3 separate regions of the Homo sapiens genome follow, and all the other regions are linked to region 2. The links are contacts of gene promoters, found by promoter capture Hi-C in human tissues and cell types (Jung and others, 2019). All regions are on one chromosome and are shown on one strand. Each heading gives the region's core, a stretch centred on a gene start or on the middle of the fragment in contact. The rest is flanking DNA. Distances are from core to core; before and after follow the strand shown. Region 1 overlaps LOC124903515 (a long non-coding RNA gene). Region 2 holds the start of PAQR5 (progestin and adipoQ receptor family member 5). Region 3 has its middle 2.8 kb from the start of LINC02896.

Region 1 (3,640 bases), core at 855-3,354, 230 kb before region 2:
CCCTGATGCCAGAAAGAATTATTAGAATATGAATTAGTGTGGTGGCTCATACCTATAATCCCAGAACTTTGGGAGGCCAAGGTGGGAGGATCACTTGAGCCCAGGAGTTTGAGACCAGCCTGGGAAACATACCAAGACCCCATCTCTACAAAAAAAAATTTTTTAAAGAATAGGAATTATGCCTATCAATGATAGACTGGATAAAGAAAATGTGGCAGATATGCACCATGGAATACTATGCAGCCATTAAAAAGGATGAGTTCATGTCCTTTGCAGGGACATGGATGAAGCTGGAAACCATCTTTCTCAGCAAATTAACACAAGAACAGAAAACCAAACACCACATGTTCTCACTCATAAGTGGGAGCTGAACAATGAGAACACATGGACACAGGGAAGGGAACATCACACACTGGGGCCTGTCTTGGGGTTGGGGGGCTAGGGGAGGGATAGCATCAGTTGAAATATCTAGTGTAGATGATGGGTTGATGGGTGCAGCAAACCACCATGGCACTTGTATACCTATGTAACAAACCTGCACATTCTGCACATGTACCCCAGAACTTAAAGTTTAATTTTTTTTAAAAAAGTGCAACAAAAAAATAAGAGTTAGTGTTTTTGGTCTAAAGAAACTGAGATCCTGAAAGGTGAAATAGTCCAGGGTCCCTCAGCCAGGATCCTGATTCCCCTTTAGAAGAGAACAGATGCAAAAAAAAGCACAGGGCCTGATTCGTAGTAGATGTTCAGTAAACACAAGCCCCCATCTCTTCTCCAAATGAGATTTCTTCTACAGCTCACTGTCATTGGTCCAAAGAATGCAGCCGCTACACTGTGTTATTGGCAGGATTGTGGGCATGACTGATTTCCTTTCTGATTGGGTAGGAAGGCTGAAGGGCGAGTTTGGAAGGGCTCTGTTCCCTTCATCTCACTCCTTTCCCCACTCGCATTTCACCCAACAGTCGTCTGATTTTTGAGCAATCTGTTCCTGGAAAGCAGAGGAAAGTAACAGATTGATGCATCGACTGCGTGTGGCCAAGTGATTTATTTTTAATGTGACTAAACAAGACACACACCTGCCTATGGAAACGTAATCACATTGAATCATCAGGGACTTAGATAGCCATTTAAGCAAGGGAAAGACAGAGAGGAGACAGAGGAGAGGAGGAAGAGGAGGGAGAGAAAGAAAAGGGAGGCAGGGGAGCAGAGACAGAAGAGGAGAGATAAGAAGGGACTGGAAGAGAGGGAAGGGAAGGGAAGGGAAGAGAAGACTGGGCCAGCTCCCTAAAAATGTTTATTTCAGCAGCATCAGTGAAGCACCCTCAATTGGCCCAAATGCCTGTGGTTTAGCTTTGCTGATGCCTGAAATTTCATAATTAGACTTTCGTCCCTGTGATTTAACCAAACACAGTATGTTCTCCACTAAAGTGTAAATGCAACAGAAGTAGTGCATCAAACTACATCAATCATTTTCACCTCAGTGAGAAAGAACTGATATCTTTTATGAAAGCAGGAGTTTTTCTATGGGGGGGTTGTATTAGTCCATTTTGCATTGCTATAAAGGAATACCTGAGACTGGGTAGTTTATAAAGAAAAGAGGTTTATTTGGCTCATGGTTCTGCAGGCTGGATAGCATGACACTGGCATCTGCTCGGCTTCTGGTGAGGCCTCAGGAAGCTTTTACTCATGGCAGAAGGCAAAGGGGGAGTAGGCAGGTCACATGGCAGGAGAGGGAGCAAGAGAGGGAGGAAGAGGTGCCAGGCTCTTTTATACAATCAGATCTCACTCTAACTAATAGAGCAAAAACTCACTCATTACCACAGGGAGGGCACCAAGCCATTTATGAGGGACCCACTCCCGTGACCTAACACTTCTCACCAGCCCCCGCCTCCAACACTGGGATCACACTTCAACATGAGATTTGGAGGGGAGAAATATCCACACTATATCGGGGGCATTAAAACAAAGTTTATGGGAGTCACCAGTGAAGGCACAGAAAGGAACCTTGGGGGCTCTAGGGACTTTCTCCTTCATGGCTTTTCTTAATGATAACACCTACCTTTACGAGCATTTGTTATGTTCCAGGCACTATGGATGCGAGCCATTACATGTACTATTTCATTCCATCTTCCCAATGGCCCTGGAATTTTGCGCTGGTGTTCTCATCACTCTCCAGGTGAGGGAACTGAAGCCCAGCCTGTCGTCATCTGTCTCAGCACTCTGAAAGGAAGATCCAGTTACAGCAGAGTTTCTCGTGGAATGCCCAGCCTCACCAATAGTATCTTGCTTGCAGAAGGCACTCAGTAAGTATGTGCCAACAGAGTGAAGTGGCAGGGATGGGACATGAATGTAGACAGTCTAACTCCAGAGCCTGTACCCTTAGCATTTGCCACAACTTTCTCCCAGATAGTCCACTCCGTTCTCCCTGCTTCTCACCCGAATAGCATACGAAATTCATGAACCACTGACTTTGGGAGGCTAAATGTCCTCCATCACAGCTCCCTTCTCAATCTCCCTGGGTCAGTACCAGGAATTAGCCAGCCAGACTGTTCCACTCTGTACTGCTAGTTTTCTATGTCCAGATACCTTTTCCCAGTTAGTCTGTAATGCCTTTGAGGGAAGGCACAGCATCCATGCAGAGTCTATGGGGGGATGTATGAGTCCTTTTGAAATTGCAGTTTCTTTCTCAAAAGCAAGATTATATCTTTGTGTTTTCTATTAATATGATTGTGGTAGGTTTTTTTCTTGAATTTTATATCAATATCCTTCACCCTGCCCCTAGCAATAGCACGTGAAGGAGATTATGAAGTCATAAGTTAGGGGGGCATCAGATTGATAGCTTTTTGAAGATTGATAATATCTAGTGTGGGCAAGGATGGAGGAAATGGATACTCATACATTGTTGGGGAGGCTTTCGAGGAGGCAAATCATCAGTAAGTAACAGTGGCTGAAACAAGATAAAAGCTTTATTTTATTTTTTTCTCATACAAAAGTCTAAGCTAGTAGAAAGTCCTGGAAAGAAGGCTGGCTCGGCTCCACAAGGTTATACAAGGACACAGGTTCTTTCTGTACATTGTACCACCATCCCCAGGGGTGTTACCTGCATCACCTGCTGGAAGCTGACTCCCACTACCACATCTGTTCTCTGAATAGATTTCTCCCTGGGGAAAGCAGAAGTACAACAAACAGCGTATTTTAAGGACCTGATTCAGAAATTGCACACAATGCTTCTCATCAGTCATAACTTAGTTACACGTCCCCATGTAGTAGCAAGGGGGGTGGAAAATATATTCTCAACTCATACCCACCTGAAACTCAGGAGATTCATTGCTAAAAGGAAGAAAAGAGAAAATGGATAGTAGGGGGACAGTGAACAGTTTCTAATACAAACAGGAGGAATTATCAAAGTTAAAAGTGCATATATTGCTAGACCCAGCAATTCCAGTTCTAGAAATGTATTCTAAGGAAATAGTCACACAACTACACAAAGATTATGTATAAGGGTAATACTAGTGGTTTTAAAATATGTTCACAAATTCTTTGATACCCTTCCCTTCACAAAAGGGCTACACTTAATGACTTACTCCTAATGAATAGAATGTGGCCAAAGTGACAATGTGTGACTTCGGAGGCTAGGTCATAA
Region 2 (3,787 bases), core at 1,288-3,787:
GAAAATAAAACACAACTCCAAATATTAAATTTACTTAGCACTCTGCAGTTTACAGAGCACTTCCAAATGCATTCTGTGGTCACTACAATAACCCTGAAAGGAAAAAAAGATGATTATCTCTCACTCCACAAAAAAGAAACTGAGGGTCAGAGAAGAGAGACAACTTGCTCAAGGCCATTTGATTGGAGGTTGCCTGACTCCTGGAGCTGCTCTTCCCCGTCTCCTTGCTGCCTTGCTGTCATGTCACCTGCTGTCTCACTGGGTCATTTGGGCGTGTGCCCCTCGCACGCCTGTATCTTCCCAACTGGTGTCAGCTCGAAACCCTCTGTGGTCTGCAGTGCTCAGCCTGGCTTTCCAGGTCTGGGCAGCTCCCTCCTTCCAGATCCTGCCTGTGATTCCAGCTCCTTTCCCTTGCTGTACAAAGTTCCCACCTCTGCACTTTGCCTCACTCTTTCTTCCTGCCCACTGGTACGTATCCCAGTCCTTCCCACACTTCAGGTCTCCCTCGGCTGCACAGGAGGCTCAAATCCAGCATAGATTCCTGAAGTCCTGGGTCCAAGTTCTAGCTCTGCTACTGACTTCTTGTGACTGTGTGACCTTGGGCAGGTCACTTTCCCTCTCTGGGCCTCCATTTCATCACTATGAAATAGGAGTGTTGAACACAATACTCTAAATGCATCTCCATGTGGTCTAAGTACCCCCCTCCCCGGCCCCTCCCTGCCCTTCCCCCTCCTCTGATCATCCTGTGTGCTCACCATCCACAATCCCCTCTCCTGGCTCCACATCATTCTCCAAAGGGTTCATGTTCAATCATTCAGTTAGACTTTAAACTCCCTAAGAGCAGAGGAGGGTGATTTTGGCCAAGATATGCAGATCGATTCATCAGTAATCCACTGACCACCTCCATTTAGGTTGGGAGCCTCTTTATCTTCCCTCTTTAGTTTCTTCAAGGTGCACACACAGATACCTACAGCAGGCAGGAATCCAGGTGGGGCACCAGGCATCTCTGCTCACCTTGGCTGCTGGTGGTGGGGTGCCTGCCTGTGCTGTGCATGCTGCAGCTTTGGCAGGGTGGCCAATCAGTCCAGTGCCAGCCTTTGCCTCCCAGAGAATGCTTCACACCCTATTCTTCCCCCAAACCCATCACTGGCCCAGACATCAAAAGCACACATCCCTGTGCTATTCCCCTTCAAAGAGCTTCATATCTAATATCTCACTGAGTCCCCCGACTAGCCTTGGAAAGGCAAAGCAGGGATTATTAATCTCCATTTTGTAGATGGTGAGGGTCTTGTCCAAGGCTACTCTGAATTCAGCATAGAGCTGGGACTGGGCTCCACTCTTGTGTCCAGTCATTCTTGTCAAACTCTGGTCTGTGGAATATACATGCCTGCCTCTGTGTAGGCCCCAGTCTCTTTCCCTTTAAGAACTTGGGTCTGAGAGGACAAGCGCATGTCGCACGCACACACACACGCACATGCATACACACCCTTACAAGATGCACAGCCACCAAAAAGCCTAATAAAGCAAGGTGCCCAAGACCACGGTTCAGGATCCGTAAAAATGGCCGGAGATAATTGACTGCAACCTATTCACTGCAAATGGGGCAACTTGGGCCCACAAAGGGCCAGAGACTTGACCCGAGTCACAGAGTAGACTAGAGCCCAGGTCTCTGGACTCCCAGTCCTGTGCTCTCTCCACTGTGTGTGCCCTCAGCAAACAAGGCAAGGCAGGGAGGAGCAGGAGCTCAGAGAGCCTGGGGCTGAAGGGTGGGAGGAAAGAGCCTGGTGGGGGACTTCGGTCCACAGGTGTGGATGTTCCAACCTTTCTCTGGCAGGGTCGGGGTGGGGGCACCAGGTAGCTGCAACCTGTTCCTTCAGCACCTGGGAGGAGACACAGAGTCTGGTTCCCTGAAGCCAAATGTTTCTTCTTTGTCCTCTGTGTCCCTTCATCTCTTATAGCTGTGTCCACTGAGTGGCAGAGGTCCAGGCCCAGCGCCTTCCAGTCTAGGAGCCTGTGACCTGGGACAGGATCCCTGGGGAAAGGGTGAGGGCTGGCAAAGGGCCCGCCACCCTGAGCACTCCAAGAGACAGGGGTGGAACTCACTTCAAGGATTCAGGGCGGCGAGGATCCTCTCCCACCGGCGAAGCGGACACCGCGGTGGGGCTGCGAGTACCCAGTTGTTGTTTTTTTCTCCTTCCCTGTTCTCCACCCCATGCACTTTTCCGAGGGGCAAGCTCCGCAGTTCTCCCATCAAGGAGGCTCTCCAGGCTCCCTGCCGGCCTTCGGCTCCTGGGGTGGAGGTGGGCGTGGGGTACATGGGCCCTAGGAGAATGGGGTGTGAGAGACTCCCCTGGGCTTATGGCTTTGGTGGCACCTCAGGCTGTGGAATGGGGTGGCGAGTCTTTGGAAGTCACAGAGCCCAGGGTCGGTGGCACGTGATGAGGCGCAGGCCTGGCTCAGGGGGTGGTGCCCACGGCCCTCGGCTCCTCCCCCGGGGCCGCCCCGCCCCGCGCGGGAGGGGACGGGCGGGGACCGGCATGGGTAGGCGCGGCGACCCGCAGGGCCAGGTGCAGGGCCCGCGAGTCCGGGGTCGCCGCAGCCCGGGAGGAGTGTCTGGTCTCCGGCCTGCCTGTGCTGTCCCCGCGCCCTGTCCACTGGACTCCCGAGACCCTTGGAACCCAGGTAACCCGGGGCGGGACTCCCCGCCGCGCGCCGCCTCCCCACCTCCCGGTCCACGCGCACCCGCCCTCCGCGGCAGCCCCAGCCGCCCTGCGCCCGTGGAGCCCGTTGAGCCTGGGTGGCCGCTCCGAGGGCGGGTCTGGGAAAGTTTGTGCCGGGGCGGCCCTGATCCGGCGGCGGCGCGGCTCGGCCACTTTCACCGCACGCGGGGCCGGTGTGAAGGTGGGGCGGCCGCCGCCGTGCAGAAGGCTCTCTGCTGCAATCGAGGGCGGTGAGGGGAGCTGTTGCCTTCTCGCACCTTTTCTCTCACTCTCCAGGGCGTTTGCGCCGCTTATCCTTCCTCCACCGCCCCCCTCCCGCCGCCCCCACTTTAATAAAACCCTTGGATTGGGGCTGCACAGTTGGCGATTTCTTTACACCTGTGCTTCCCGCCTCCTGAGCCCAGATGTGAGCCTGGGCTGAGCAGGACCGTGTGGGTGAGGGGCGGCCCACTGCCTGCGGGGGTCGTCCCGGCCCTGTTGAAGTGGGTGCCCAGCTACAGGGAGTTCCCCCTGCTCTGTCATTGGCCTCCCCCCGGCCACAGCCCCCAGCTGGGCATCTCCTGGCTCCCCTAGCACTTCCCAAGTCCTAGTCGGATGAGCCCAGGAGAGGGGGTGGACCCCGGCCCAGCAGAACAAGAACTCAGGAGCCCGGTAACTCTTATCCGTGAGCAGAACCGGCTTCCTCCCGCTTAGGTTGGGAGGAGGGCTCAGCTTAGTGGGAGTCGGGGGTGACAACTGCCCCTTCCCACGCAGAGCCATAGAGAAGAGATGGGGAGAGGTCAGGGGATCTGAGAAGAGCTAGCAGCCAAAAAGGGACACATCCCTGATTTCATTTGAACCTAACAAACCAATGGCGAGTAGATATTAACACATGGGCAGATGAGAAGACAAGGAGGCCCAACAAAGCTCAGCCATTTGCTGGAGAAACTGGTGGGCTTTTCTCCACCACTGAGTGGCGGGTTTCCCACCGCATCCTTCCAGAGCTGCATGGTCGCTTCTGCATTCTTGCAGTGCCCTTGACTCAGCAGAGGTTTGTTTCTTTTACCCCACTCCCCACCCCCCTAGGT
Region 3 (3,899 bases), core at 1,228-3,727, 170 kb after region 2:
ATTGACAAACCTGGGAAAATGGGCTGTTGGTTGATTTGGGTGTAAATTCCTATAACGTTTTTCTTCTTTCTTTTCTTCTTTACTCCTCCTCTCCCTCCTCCTCCCCTACCCCTCCTTTCCCCTCCTCCTCCTCTTTCTCTTTCTTCTTCTCTTCTTTTTTTTTGAGACAGGATCTCACTGTCGCCCAGGATGGAGTGCAGTGGCATGATCTCTGCTCACTGCAACCTTGAACTCTGGGGCTCAAGCGATCCTCCCGAGTAGCCGGGATTACAGGCACATGTCACCACGCCAGGCTACTTTTTTTTTTTTTTTTTTTGGTCTTTTCTAGAGATAGGGTTTCACCATGTTGCCCAGGGTGGTCTTGAACTCCTAGGCTCAAGTGATCCTCCATCCTTGGCCTCCCAAAGTGCTGGGATTACAGGCGAGAGCCTCCACACCCAGCCCCTTAATGTTTCATTCTACTATTTTATTAAAGACTGAAAACCACAGTTAATAATGTGGGGATTTTGAATTTTTTAAATTTACTTTTTTTTTGAGACAGGGTCTTGCTTTGTCACCCAGGCTGGAGTGCAGTGGTGTGATCAAGGCTCACTGCAGCCTCGACCTCCTTGGGGCTCAAGCAACCTTCCTGCCCCAGTCTCCAAGTAGCTGGATTACAGGTGGTGAGCCACTGTGCCATCACTACAAGTTCCAATTTTTTTTTTTAATTTTTAAATGTTTTCTTCAGCCTGTTTGAGTTTGAACTACTACAGTTTTGTTTTGTTTTTTTTTTTTTTTTTTTTTTTTTTTGAGATGGAGTCTTGCTCTGTCGCCTAGGCTGGAGTGGAGCGGTGCGATCTCAACTCACTGCAAGCTCCGCCTCCCGGGTTCACGCCATTCTCCTGCCTCAGCCTCCCGAGTAGCTGGGACTACAGGCGCCCGCCACCACGCCCTGCTAATTTTTTGTATTTTTAGGAGAAACAGGGTTTCACCATGTTAGCCAGGATGGTCTTGATCTCCTGACCTCGTGATCTGCCCGCCTCGGCTTCTCAAAGTGCTGGGATTATAGGCGTGAGCCACCGAGCCCGGCCAGAACTACTACAATTTTTTTAGGGTCATTTGGTCCTCTCTCTCAAAAGTGCGCTTACCCTCTATCCAGGAATTTCATTTGTAGGAACCTATGCTATGTACAATTTCACTGAAGTATTGCTTGTATTAGAAAAAAAGTATGGATGATAGGCAGGTTGAATAAATGTTAATGTTTTCATGTAGCTATGTATAGGAATGCCGCTATGGAAAGACATCCAGGACACCTTGTTAAGTGAAAAAAGGTAAGTTGCCACCAGTATGCATAACATGACCCTATTTGAGTAAAAAAATAAAAAAAATGTGCATATGTTTTATAGTATTAAAAAACTTCTGGGAGGATTCAAGAGTAATTATAGTGGTTACTTCTGAGGACAGGGATTGGATGGGGTGGAAGAAATATTTTTACTTTCCAGTTTATCCTTTTTATATTGCTTGAATTTTTAAAGACCATGAACATACATTACTTTTCTAAATTAAAAACACTGGTTTTGATTTTTTAAAAATTGGAGAGGGTTTCATGTGGAAGAGAGACTCAACTTCCAAGTAGTTCTAGAAGGAAGAACTCTGACCAGTTTTGAGACAGTTTTAGGTCAAAATAAGAAAAATAAGGAAAAGCTTTGCTAGGTGTTAGGCTGAGGCTGGGATATGGAAGACAGTGTTGCTCCAGGAGGAAGTGAACTAGATGCTTCCTCTAGCTATGAGATCATGTAAGTCTTCTGGGACACAGGGTTAAATGCTCTGATATCAGACTACCTGGGCTGGCTCAAATCCCATTGCCGCTAAATAGGGCTGTGTGACTTTGAGTGAGTTATTTAACCTCTCTGTGCCTCAGTTCCATCATATGCATAGTGGGGATCATGTTGACACCTACCTCATAGAGTTCTTTTAGAATTAAGTGAGATGGCACATATAAAACAGCATAGTTACTGTTCAAAAACTGTTGAGCTTTTCTTTGCTATCTCATATGAATTGGTGGCTAAAAAGTTAAAAAGTGGCAGGGCACGGTGACTCACTCCTTTGGGAGGCCGAGGAAGGTGGATCACTTGAGGCCAGCAGTTGGAGACCAGCCTGGCCAACATGGCAAAAACCCACCTCTACTAAAAATACAAAAATGAGCCGGGTGTGGTGGCGTGTGCCTGTAGTCCCAGCTACTCAGGAGGCTGAGGCATGAGAATTGTTTGAACCCTGGAGCTGGAGGTTGGAATGAACCAAGATTGCGCCATTGCACTCTATCCTGGATGACAGAGAGAGACTGTCTCAAAAAATAAAATAAATAAAATAAAAAGGAAATCAAAGAAACAGTTTCTACAATTAGAAAGGCTGTTTTATTTTTACACCCTTTATGGAGAAGGTCAAATATTGGATTTTCAGAATTAATGGAATTATTGGGTTGGTAGAATTTCATACATGCTGGATGGCTTTGCTGACAAAAGGAATTTTTGTTTTCCAGATGCTGGCTCAGTGTTGCCCCATAGTGGCCAATCCTGGGAAGGGCTACTGGGGTTGACCCCTTCACGCTAGAGTGCTTCTAGGCTAGGGTGTGAGTTCCACAGTCAGAGCTGCCTGGCTGCTTGGCCGAAGGATGAGTGAGTCAGTCCACACCTTAGTAAGGAAAGCATGTTTGTGTGCCCTCCCATGACCCAGCCAAGAGGAAACCAAGAGCACTTTAATATGGTCTTCCCTCCCTTGTAATTTACTTAGCACGCTTCACTTTGCCTCTGCAAATGCTCAAGTTCATTTCTTGTTTAAAAACAAAGAAAGATGTCACTGAATCACTGTGCAATCTGGTGCACCCTTGGTTTTCCTCAAAGGTTGTTGGAAGAAAAGGCCACATGAAAACCATTTCTGCTTTTGCCAGAAAACTTGAGCAGGCTCTTATATTGTTATGGTCTCCTAAATAAGGTCTCATGTGAAAAATTCTTGTAAAATTTAGGGGCAGGAGAAAGTTTGTGTCCTCTGGGGCATTAGTCTGCATCCTCCTGTATGATAACGAGAGCTCTGTGACTTCACACTCTCTCTTCTCTGCTTCAGCTGCTGAGAAATTCAGTACCAGACCAGGTGCCCAATCTCAGTAATTAAATTAACCCAAATGGATAAGGTGTTTACCTCCTCCTCCTTTTCTTGGTACTGATTTTTAAAATAAAAATTTTGGCAGCTTTTTTATTGACTTTACTGCATCGTTGTACTTTGATCTATACTCAAATTCTTTTGAGAAAGAGGAAAGGAATTCACAAATTAAATGAAAAATTGAATATTGGAAGGTTTTTTTCTGGTGGCACGTTAAATGAGATATTAAGTTAGTGGTTGTACTTGGGTTTTGAGACTAACAAGCTTATAGGTCCAAGATTTCAGGTCATAATTTTTCTTTACTTGGGAAAATGAGAACCTCATGCATATCAGGCCATCAAAGAAGTTGTGAGGTGTGGTGAAAAGACAGAAAGCAGTTCAGGCTTGTTTTTTGTTTGTTTGTTTGTTTGGAGATGGAGTCTCTCTGTCACCCAGGCTGGAGTGCAGTGGCATGATCTCGTCTCACTACAACCTCCGCCTCCTGAGTTCCAGCGATTCTCCTGCCTCAGCCTCCCGAGTAGCTGGGACTATAGGCGCGCACCACCACACCCGGCTGATTTTTGTAGTTTTAGTAGAGACGGGGTTTCACCACGAGGCTTGTTTTTTATCCACTGTCACCAAGGATAATATTGAATCAGTGTGAACATTCAGAGACCGAAAAAGCTAGAAGCCCTATTCGGACCCAAAATATTTTCCCTCTGCTGTCATTTCAGACATGCCACCATTAGGGCTTCATTTCCCTGCAGTCTTCTTTAAATACCAAA

What was found. The method cuts DNA at HindIII sites, captures the fragments that hold promoters and counts their contacts. A contact is called where the count stands out against the background at its distance.
Region 1: a contact is called between a fragment that was not itself captured here and the fragment with the promoter of PAQR5 in region 2, in 6 of the 25 tissues and cell types used here (heart left ventricle, hippocampus, mesendoderm cells and 3 more).
Region 3: a contact is called between a fragment that was not itself captured here and the fragment with the promoter of PAQR5 in region 2, in 1 of the 25 tissues and cell types used here (bladder).

Annotation. Positions count from the first base shown.
Region 1 is chr15:69,069,257-69,072,896 of GRCh38, forward strand. LOC124903515 (a long non-coding RNA gene) reads right to left here. Exons shown (of 2, transcript XR_007064692.1): 1 at 2,057-3,640; 2 at 1-985. Among named protein-coding and RNA genes, the nearest start is that of EWSAT1, 9.8 kb to the right of the region's middle. The HindIII fragment of the contact is 5,134 bases long and covers 1-3,640 here.
Region 2 is chr15:69,296,375-69,300,161 of GRCh38, forward strand. PAQR5 (progestin and adipoQ receptor family member 5) reads left to right here and starts at 2,538. Exons shown (of 9, transcript NM_017705.4): 1 at 2,538-2,682. PAQR5-DT (PAQR5 divergent transcript) reads right to left here and starts at 2,389. Exons shown (of 3, transcript NR_184010.1): 1 at 2,104-2,389. The HindIII fragment of the contact is 6,076 bases long and covers 1-3,787 here.
Region 3 is chr15:69,463,582-69,467,480 of GRCh38, forward strand. No RefSeq gene overlaps it. Among named protein-coding and RNA genes, the nearest start is that of LINC02896, 2.8 kb to the left of the region's middle. The HindIII fragment of the contact is 4,515 bases long and covers 221-3,899 here.